Regions from separate parts of the Homo sapiens genome. Here all the other regions are linked to region 1. The links are contacts of gene promoters, found by promoter capture Hi-C in blood cells and fetal thymus (Javierre and others, 2016). All regions are on one chromosome and are shown on one strand. Each heading gives the region's core, a stretch centred on a gene start or on the middle of the fragment in contact. The rest is flanking DNA. Distances are from core to core; before and after follow the strand shown.

Evidence for each region. The method cuts DNA at HindIII sites, captures the fragments that hold promoters and counts their contacts. A CHiCAGO score of 5 or more calls a contact.
Region 2: a contact is called between a fragment that was not itself captured here and the fragment with the promoter of ZNF667 in region 1, in 1 of 17 cell types (erythroblasts). The highest score is 6.9, in erythroblasts.
Region 3: a contact is called between a fragment that was not itself captured here and the fragment with the promoter of ZNF667 in region 1, in 2 of 17 cell types (activated CD4 T cells and naive CD8 T cells). The highest score is 6.4, in activated CD4 T cells.

The regions. Positions count from the first base shown.
Region 1 is chr19:56,475,727-56,479,010 of GRCh38, forward strand. ZNF667 (zinc finger protein 667) reads right to left here and starts at 1,619. Exons shown (of 7, transcript NM_001321356.2): 1 at 1,546-1,619. ZNF667-AS1 (ZNF667 antisense RNA 1) reads left to right here and starts at 2,148. Exons shown (of 2, transcript NR_036521.1): 1 at 2,148-2,655. The HindIII fragment of the contact is 7,484 bases long and covers 1-3,284 here.
Region 2 is chr19:58,105,637-58,108,920 of GRCh38, forward strand. It overlaps a transcript of ZSCAN18 not described here. Among named protein-coding and RNA genes, the nearest start is that of ZSCAN18, 9.0 kb to the left of the region's middle. The HindIII fragment of the contact is 4,764 bases long and covers 1-3,284 here.
Region 3 is chr19:58,071,877-58,075,160 of GRCh38, forward strand. No RefSeq gene overlaps it. Among named protein-coding and RNA genes, the nearest start is that of ZNF135, 14 kb to the left of the region's middle. The HindIII fragment of the contact is 1,092 bases long and covers 952-2,043 here.

The DNA.
Region 1 (3,284 bases), core at 369-2,868:
AACATCCCTTAGTCCCTGACACTTCAAAGTTCTGTTCTTGACCCCATGGGCTCCCTAGGGACATCTCCATCAGGAAGATCCTTTGTTCCTGACCCCACCTCCTCTACCCTAATGCTGCCCTCCCAGGACCCTGCCTACACAATTCTGAACCTAAGCCCTGATCTAGACGTCCAAGTTATTTTACCTCTGGACCTGCAACCCTTACTCTGGGGCTCATCCTTTTGCATTTCTACCTATGGATTTTATTCTCCAGGTGTGGGACGCCTGCGGTTATTATGCTAATAATAAAACGATGATCATTGATGTGGCACTTCCTTGTGCCAAGTTCTACTTATGCTCACCATAAACCTGAGGTTGGTTCTGTTATTACTACTGTTTTACAAGTGAACCGAGGAGTGGTGGACTTAAGTAAGCTCTCTCAGTCACACAGCCAGCCAGTGGTGAAACCAGGAGTCAACACCAGACAGCGGGGCGCCACAGTCCATGCTCTTATTTTTCCAAGCTACCTTGGTAGGAAGGGGACACAACCATACTTAGCGTCAGTGGAGGGCTCTGTCCTCCACTCAAATGTACACATGCAGAAAACTGACGACGCAGGTGGTTGGCGGGGGCAGCGCACCACTGCTCAACTGGAGATGGTCAGATGCCCTGGTATGTGGACAAAGATAGCCCAGTCCGAAGCTCAGAGATGCAAAGTCCTCCAGTATTCACCACTACCTCTGCCTCTGTATAGGGTCAAAGAAAAACGACCACCAGCACCATAACCAACACCTAAACACGGTGATTAGTATGTGACAAGCTCTGTGCAGGGTGTTTCAGCTACGTCATCCCATTTAATCTTCCCAATAACACCCAGGCAGGTGCTATTAATATGCTATTTTACCAAGGAGGAAAGTCATGCACAATTAAACAGTTCCACAGATTTCCAGGGCAGCCCATCACATCTTAGAGCTGCTAAGAATTCTTCCCCTGTGGGCCTCCATTTCCATGGTTACAGTGAGATATACACCAGAAAGGCACAGTCACACACTCATAACCGCAAAGCCACTGACGCTAAGTGGCAGACAGACGCCCAGGCAAGTCACACAGTAACCCAAGGCTACAATAAACGCCCACATCAGCCTGACACTGACACACGCACACACTCCAGAAACACAAATCTTCACAGTCAGCGTCACACACCCACTCCCGGCTTCCCAATGGCTCCATTGTTTCCTTCGCGTGGGTCACGCAGCGATACACATCCGCGGTCCCGACATAGCTCCCTCACACACAGGCACACACGGCTCGCCTCACACGCGGCGCCAACTTCACACTTGGGCGCACAAGCCCCGAGAACCACAGCAGCGAAGGGCGCAAACCCCACGCCGTGGCGGGCCGAGAACCCACGCAGGCGCGAGCCCACCGCCCACGCAAGCACCCGCGCAGACGCCCACGCCATCGTGGATGCGCAAACCCACGCGCGCCTTGGCAGGAACGTCCACGCAGTGGCGGGCGCGCCGCCCACGCCCTCAGACACACCCACACTCTCGCCAGCCCCCTTACCTCGGTCTTCCCGGGCTCAGACCCCGGCGGCGACCACCGAGACAGCCGAGCAGGGACTCAGCGCCTGCGCACTCCCCTCCGGGACCCCGGGACCGCGCGCTGCACCCCCCTTCACACACGCACCACGCATGCGGGCGCGTGGCCCCGCCCCCAAACAAGGCCACGCGGCGTGCGCTCACCCGCCTCTCGGGGACAGTACCACCAGCCCCGGCCTGAGGCCCCGACCCCTCAGCGCCACACGCACAAGCGCGTTCGCACGATTGGTGCAGGCGGACGCGCGAGGTCCCGCGCCTGCGCACACCCCCGAGGCTGGCACGCACACCGGTCTCCTAGGGGACTGGCGCCTGGCCCTGCTTTTCATCCTCTCAGGAGATCACGTGTGGACACTGAGGCCCTTCCTCGAGCTCTTTAACCAAACCCAACCTCCCCAATTCGCCGCCTTCCCCGCTCCCACAACCACACGTTCCCGTGTGAGGGCTTATTGCCTCCAGCCAGCCAGCGTCCTTCGCCCCCACATTCACGAGGTTTGGAGCCGGCCTCACCCGCGGAGGCGGACACCGCCCACCCGCGCGTGCGCACTACGCAGTCATCCTGCGACCTCCAGAATCCACCGGGGTGCAGCGAGGCTGTGGAAAGTCCCACCCAGAACGTGAGGTGAAGAAGGCTTGGGCTGCGCTGGTTCTGCTCTGTCCGGGTCGGAGATGAACTGACCCGGGAGAGCAGCGGAGGGATGTTTCTTTTGGCCAACAGTGGGGACTCACCTGCACGTTTTGCGAAGAGGCCCACAGTCCTTTGCGTGGCGCTCGGACTACATTTCCCAACGGCCCCTGCACGCCCTGGGGGCTGTTCCATGCGGTGTTGCGCCTGCGTAGCCGGCGGGCTGGCAGTGAGACTGACTGCGTCGGGGTTGAGACTGGGTGGATGAGGCTCACCCCGGCGGGGAGAAGGGACGAGGAGGGGCGGACAGCGGAAGGTCCGGGAGTGTCCGCCATAAAGTCGTTTGAGGTGACCGTTGCGTAATTGTGAGTCTGTGAGAGAAGATGTGAAGTATGGCCTCGTCCCGGTCATCTGGGCGTGCGGGTCCCGGGTTTTGATCGCGCGTTTGTGTAGGTGAGACCCACATTGTGTTACCCTGAACATGTGTGAGGACGAACCTTTGTGTTTTCTTATACGTGTGTCTCTGAGGCGATTTTTGTGGTTTTGTACGTGGCGGGGGGCACTGATTTTGAATATGTGTGTATGTTCTGGACATTTGTTTAGCTTCTGCATCCACTTCTGCGGAAGGGCAGAGTTGAGTAGGTGGGAACAGGTACTGTGTGGCCCCACAAAGCCTGAACTATTTACTGTTGACTCTAGAGCCCAGTTTTTGCGGTGTGTACGTCTCTGTGGGGAACCACACATTTTGAATATGTATACTTGTGTATATTTACGTCTATTCTATGACTGCTTTTGCACAATGGCAGGGTTCAGTACTTGCAGCAGAGATCTTGTGGCCCATAAAGCCTAAAATACTATCCGACTAAGGTTTCGAGCCGTAGCCAGTTTTTGTGGATGAGTGTTGTGTGTGTGTGGGAAGCCAGTGATTGATTGATTGATTGATTGATTTGGGACGGAGTCTCGCTCTGTCGCCCAGGCTGGAGTGCAGTGGCGCGATCTCGGCTCACTGCAACCTCCGCCTCCAGGTTCAAGCCATTCTTCTGCCTCATCCTCCCTAGTAGCTGGGACTACAGGCGCCCGCC
Region 2 (3,284 bases), core at 486-2,985, 1.6 Mb after region 1:
GGCAACAGAGTGAGACTCCGTCTCAAAAAAATAAAAAATAAAAAAGAAGAATGCAGTTTGCAGCTATGCGTGGTGGCTCATGCCTGTATTCCCAGCACTTTGGGAGGTTGAAGCAGGTGGATTACTTGAGCTTAGGAGTTTAAGACTAGCCTGGCCAACATGGTGAAACCCTATCTCTACTAAAAATAAAAAATTAGCCGGCCATAGTGGTACATGCCTGTAGTCCCAGCTACTCAAGAGGCTGAGGCATCAGGATCGCCTGAACCCAGGTGGCAGAGGCTGCAGTGAGCTGAGATCGCGCCACTGCACTCTAGCCGAGGCAACAGAGTGAGAATCCTTATCAAAAAAGAAAAAAAAAGGTATGTATTTTGTAAGGCTATAGCTGCCATAGATAGTAATGATTCCTTGGATGGATCCAGGGAAAGTAAATTAAAAACCTTCTGGAAATGATTCACTATGCTAGATGCCATTAAGAGCATTCTAGGCCAGGCACAATGGCTCACACCTGTAATACTAGCACTTTGTCAGGATGAGGCAAGAGGATCACTTCGGCACAGGAGTTCAAGACCAGCTTGAGCAATATGGTGAGATGCCGTCTCTACAAAACATAAAAAAAATTAGCCAGGCGTGGTGGTGCATGCTGGTAGTTCCAGCTATGTAGGAGGCTAAGGTGAGAGGACAACTTGAGCCTAGAGGTCGAGGCTGCAGCGAGCCATGGTTGCAGCACTGCACTCCAACCTGGGCAACAGAATGAGACCATGTCTCAAAAGAAAAAAAGACATCTGGCTGGGCGCGGTGGCTCACGCCTGTAATCCCAGCACTTTGGGAGGCCGAGGCGGGCGGATCACGAGGTCAGGAGATCGAGACCATCCCGGCTAAAACGGTGAAACCCCGTCTCTACTAAAAATACAAAAAAAATTAGCCGGGCGTAGTGGCGGGCGCCTGTAGTCCCAGCTACTTGGGAGGCTGAGGCAGGAGAATGGCGTGAACCCGGGAGGCGGAGCTTGCAGTGAGCCGAGATCCCGCCACTGCACTCCAGCCTGGGCGACAGAGCGAGACTCCGTCTCAAAAAAAAAAAAAAAAAAAAAAAAAGAAAGAAAGAAAAAAAGACATCTGTTTTTTTTGTTTTTTTGTTTTTTTTTGAAATGGAGCCTCCTTCTGTTTCCCAGGCTGCAGTGCAGTGGCTCGATCTCTGCTCACTGCAACCTCTGCCTCCCAGCTTCAGGCAATTCTCCTGCCTCAGTCTCCTGAGTAGCTGGGATTACAGGTGTGCACCATCACGCCTGGCTAATTTTTTTTTGTATTTTTAGTAGAGATGAGGTTTCAGCATGTTGGTCAGGCTTGTCTCGAAATCCTGACCTCGTGATCTGCCCACCTTGGCCTCCCAAAGTGCTGGGATTACAGGCGTGAGCCACCGTGCCTGGCCAAGACATCTGTTCTTGAATAATGAGACTGGAAAGTCAAAATTACTCCTGATCTATGATGGGCTGCAGAATACATGTTGTGTTAGCAGGTGTGAGAACAACATTCATCTCCCTGTACATCTTCATCACAGCTCTTGTCAACAAGCAGCCATATTTTGAAAGGAATCTTTATTCTGAGGAAGTCTCAACAGTGGGTTTAAAATATTCAGCACAGGCCGGGCATGGTGGCTCATGCCTGTAATCTCATCACTTTTGGGAGGCCAAGGTGGGCAGATCACTTCAGGTCAGGAGTTCAAGACCAGCCTGACCAACATGGTGAAACCCTATCTCTACTAAAAAAAATACAAAACAATTAGTGTGATGGTGGGTACCTGTAATCCCAGCTACTTGCTCAGGAGTTTGAGGAAGGAGAATCGCTTGAACCCAAGAGGCAGAGGCTGCAGGGAGCTGAGATCACACTACTGCACTGCAGCCTGGGTGACAAGAGTGAAACTCTGTCTCAAAAATAAAATAAAATATTGAGTGCACCATGCGGTAAACACATGTGCTGTCATCCAGGATTTTTTCTTCCATTTATAGATGGAAAAACATATTTGTTACTTTCAAACAACATAAACTCTTCAACATGAAGTCTCTGACAAAGAGGAGGCAAAGAAAATCAGATCAGTCACTGCCACAGATGCTCACTGAATCCCCATAGGTCTCAGTCCAATGTGTCAACTCTGGTTTCTAGCGAGAGCACAGATACTTGGGAAAACTTTCCCACACTAGACACACTGGCACAAGGTCGCCTGAGCATGTACCTTCTTGTGCTTGGTCAGACAGGAGCTGTCCCTGAAGGCTTTGCCACACCGATTACACTCGTAGGGCTTCTCACCAGTATGAGTCCTCTGGTGCCAGATGAGGCCCGCGATGTTCCTGAAAAGTTTGACACTGGTTACAGCCACAGACCTTCTCACCAGTATGAATCCTCTTGTGCCTGATGAGGTACATAATCTCAGTGAAAGATTTTTTCACATTGTTTAACTCATGAGATTTCTTTCCAGAATGATTTTTTTGATGCAAAAGAGCTGACTGTTGTGGTTGGAGAATTTTTCACACTCCATACACATATAGGGTCTCTTTCCAATGTGAATTCTCCCATGTTTAATAAGTTATGTGTGATCAATGAAGGCCTTTCTACACCCAGTACATACATAGGGCTCCCCTCACATGTGAATTCTCAGATGGACAATAAGGTTGGAGACATCAGAAAAGGATTTTTCACATTCATTACATTCGAATAGTTTTTCCACAGTATGACTTCTGAAATGCAAAACAAGGGAAGAGTGGCAGCTGAAGGTCTTCCCATACCAATTCCTTTCACAGGGCTTCTTTCCTATGTGGGTTTTCTCATGCTTGGTAAAGGTGGAGCCAGCACTGAAGGCTTTCCCACTTCTTGCATTTATAGGATTTCTCTCCTGTGTGGATTTTTTGATGTACAATCAGGTTGTAATTCTTAGAGAGGGATTTTCCACAGTCATTACAGGTATAAGGGCTCTCTCCAGTATGAGTCCTCTGGTGACTGATGAAATGAGATTTCGGTCTAACGGACAGTCCACATTCACTGTCATTGTATTCATTTCCAGAGATACTTCCATTGTGTTCATAAGGACATGTGTCCCTATCAAACACCTCCTCGTGTCCTTCTCCTTTGTGTTGTTCCTTTCTCTGGCAATTACATGTTGTTCACTAAGGTGTGTAGAAAGGCTGAAGGAGTTACCACCTTCGTTACATTTTGAAGGCTCATCTCCTTGTTAGATCTTCATCAAGGTGGCTAGGTTGTCCACCCTGGCTGATGGCTGCTCTACAGTCATCATT
Region 3 (3,284 bases), core at 248-2,747, 1.6 Mb after region 1:
TTGGGTACTACAGAGAGGTGCCCACAGTATCACTTCTCTCCTAAGCCAGGGAAAGAGATGAGATTCCTCTCCCTGATGGTGCCAAGCCAGTGGAAGGGCACTGTGGGGGTTACACCCTCCTGAGTCTAGAGGACCTTGCTTACTACGCCTCAGTTATTGGCACACAAGTAGAAGATCAAGTGGGAAAACAGGTGAATGCAGGTGAAATAAGAATGAGGGAGAGTTCTGAGGCTAGTTCAGAAAAGGCCATACAGCGTCTGTCTTTTTTTGCTGGAACACTTGTGCTTGGAGCCCTGAGACACCACTTGAGAAACCCACTGGCCCAAGGCCACCATGCTGTGAGGATGAAGCCACACAGGCTCTGCTCAGGGTGTCAGTTCACTCCTAGTCTGAATCTCCCCAGCCTCATCAGGCCTGTGACAGAACAGTCTTCAGATGATTCCAGCCTCCCAGCTTTCAAGGTACCTCAGCCTTCAAGTTCCCAGCTGAGGCCCCACACATGGTGGAGCCGACCAAAGTCATAAAGTCATCCTTGAATGTGCCTTTTTTTTTTTTTTGAGACAGAGTCTAGCTCTGTTGCCCAGGCCGGAGTGCAATGGCATGATCAAGGCTCACTGCAGCCTCCACCTCCTGGGCTCAAGTAATTCTCCTGCCTCAGCCTCCCAAGTAGCTGTGATTACAGGTGTGTGCCACCGTGCCTGGCTAATTTTTGTATTTTTAGTAGAGACAAGGTTTCACCATGTTGGCCAGGCTGGTCTCAAACTCCTGACCTCAGGTGATCCACCCGCCTTGGTCTCCCAAAGTGCTGGGATTACAGGAGCAAGTCACTGCACCCAGCCTGAGGTCTGTTTTTTTAACTGTGCAGGCAGCCGCTCCACTCCACACTGCCTCTTGCTCCTCCTCTGGCCATGTGATATGTCTGCTCCTACTTCCCCTTCCACCATGAGTAAAAGCTTCCTGAGGCCTCCCCAGAAGCTGAGCAGATGCCAGTGCCCTGCTTCCTGTACAGCCTGCAGAACTATGAGCCTGTTAAACCTCTCTTTTTTATAAATTACTCAATCTCAGGCATTTCTTGATAGTAACACAAGAACGGCCTAACACAGTGAGCACAGTTTCTGGGTGTGCAGCCATGAGACTGAGAGGAAGGTCTGGTTCTTTAGCAAGGAAAGGTTCTGTCTCTTTCTGGATGCAAAGGGAGAAGTATGCTGCCTACCACCTGCAAGCACAGAGAGGACCATCCTGTACAGAGTCAACTCAGAGAAGACAGCAAAGCCCAAACTCATCTACAATTCAAGCAGGGGCCCCACCCTGGACCTTGCATCCTGGTCTTTCACAGCAAATAAATAATAACCTCAGCTGGGCGTGGTGGCTCATGCCTGTAATCCCAGCACTTTGGGAGGCTTGCTCGAACCCAGGAGTTCAAGACCAGCCTGGGCAACATAGTGAGACCCCATCTATACAACAGATAAAAAATTAGCCAGTCATGGTAGCGTGTGCCTGTACTCCCAGCTACGCAGTAGGCTAAGGCAGGACTATCACTTGAACCCAGGTATTTGAGGCTGCAGTGAGGTATGGTTTCACCACTGCACTCCAGACCATGTTTCTAAAAAAAAAAAAAGTAAATAATATCCTAAAGTGTATACAATTTTGAGTTGGATTTCTGGTGACTGGCAGCCAAAAATGCATCTTGAGTGGAAGAATCGTAGAAAGTAGAGAATTAAGTATCCTTTGGCTTCCCATTGTGTTTCTGAAAAAAAGTCAGGAAAGCTGGTGCGATGGTTTGGATATTTGTCCCCTCCAAATCTCATGTTGAAATGTGATCCCCAGTGTTGGAGGTGGGGCCTAGTGTGAGGTATGTGGGCTATGGGGTGGATCCCACATGAATGGCTTAGTGCTGTCCTCATGGTAATGAGTGAGTTCTCCCTTTATGAGTTCACCCAAGAGATGGTTATTTAAAGGAGCCTGGCACTTCCTCCCCTCTCTCTTGTTTTCTCTCTCACTATATGATGCACCAGCTCCCCTTTGCCTTCCGCCATGATTGGAAGCTTCCTGAGGCCTCCCCATAGTGCAGATGCCAGCACTATGCTTCCTGTACAGCCTGCAGAACCGTGAGCCAAATAAATCTCTTTTCTTTGTAAATTACCCATCCTCAGGTATTCCTTTATAGCCGTGTAAACAGACTAACACAGCCAGGGCCGTTGGAAGTTTTGTGGAAGCACTGGGTAGGACTGACGTGTGGTAGTCACTGTCCCTCCTGAGTCTCCTCTTATACTGTATGTGAGAGGGAGATTCTTTCAGGCAGCAAGTATTTTCCAAGCACCAACTATAGCTCAGGCACAATTCCAGACTCTGGCAACTAAACTGATGAAACTCGTGGTCTCAGGAGCTTATATTTTGGTGGGGAAATGGAAAATAGAGAAATTAGGATGTTATGGGCACATTACACAGTAAGTGTTATGTAGAAACAAAATGGTCCAAGAAGGGAAACCCCAGGCTGGGCGCAGTGGCTCAAGCCTGTAATCCCAGCACTTTGTGAGGCCAAGGCAGGCAGATTGCCTGAGGTCGAGAGTTCAAGACCAGCCTGGCCAACATGGAGAAACCCCGTCTCTACTAAAAACACAAAATTAGCCGGGCATGGTGGCACGTGCCTGTACTCCCAGCTACTAGGGAGGCTGAGGCAGGAGAATCTCTTGAAACCGGAAGGCAGAGGTTGAAGTGAGCCGAGTTCGCACAATTGCACTCCAGCCTGGGCAACAAGAGCGAAACTCCGCCTCAAAAAAAAAAAAAAAAAAGAAGAAGGGAAACCCCAAGTCCTCTGGACTTTTTTTTTTTTTTTTTTTTTTTTTTTTTTGAGGTAGGGTTTTGCTTTGTCACGAAGGCTGTAGCTTCAACCTCCTGGGCTCAAATGATCTATCTGTCCCACCTCAGCCTCCTGAGTAGGTGGGACTACAGGCATGTGCCACCATGCCTGGTTAACTTTTAAATTTTTTTAGAGATGAGGTCTTGCTATGTTGCCCAGGCTGGTCTCAAACTCCTGGGCCCAAGCGATCCTCTTGTCTCAGCCTCCCAAATGCTGGGATTACAGGCATGAGCCACTGCGCACAGCCTCTCTGGACTTCTCAGTTACCTGAGCCAATTCATTCCTTTTTGGTTTAGCCCCATGGCAGGTAACACAAATTCAATCCAATTAAAGAAACACAACTAGTAAGCTGGGTGTGGTGGCTCATGCCTGTAATCCCAGCACTTTGGGAAGCCAAGATGGATGGATCATTTGAGGTCAGCAG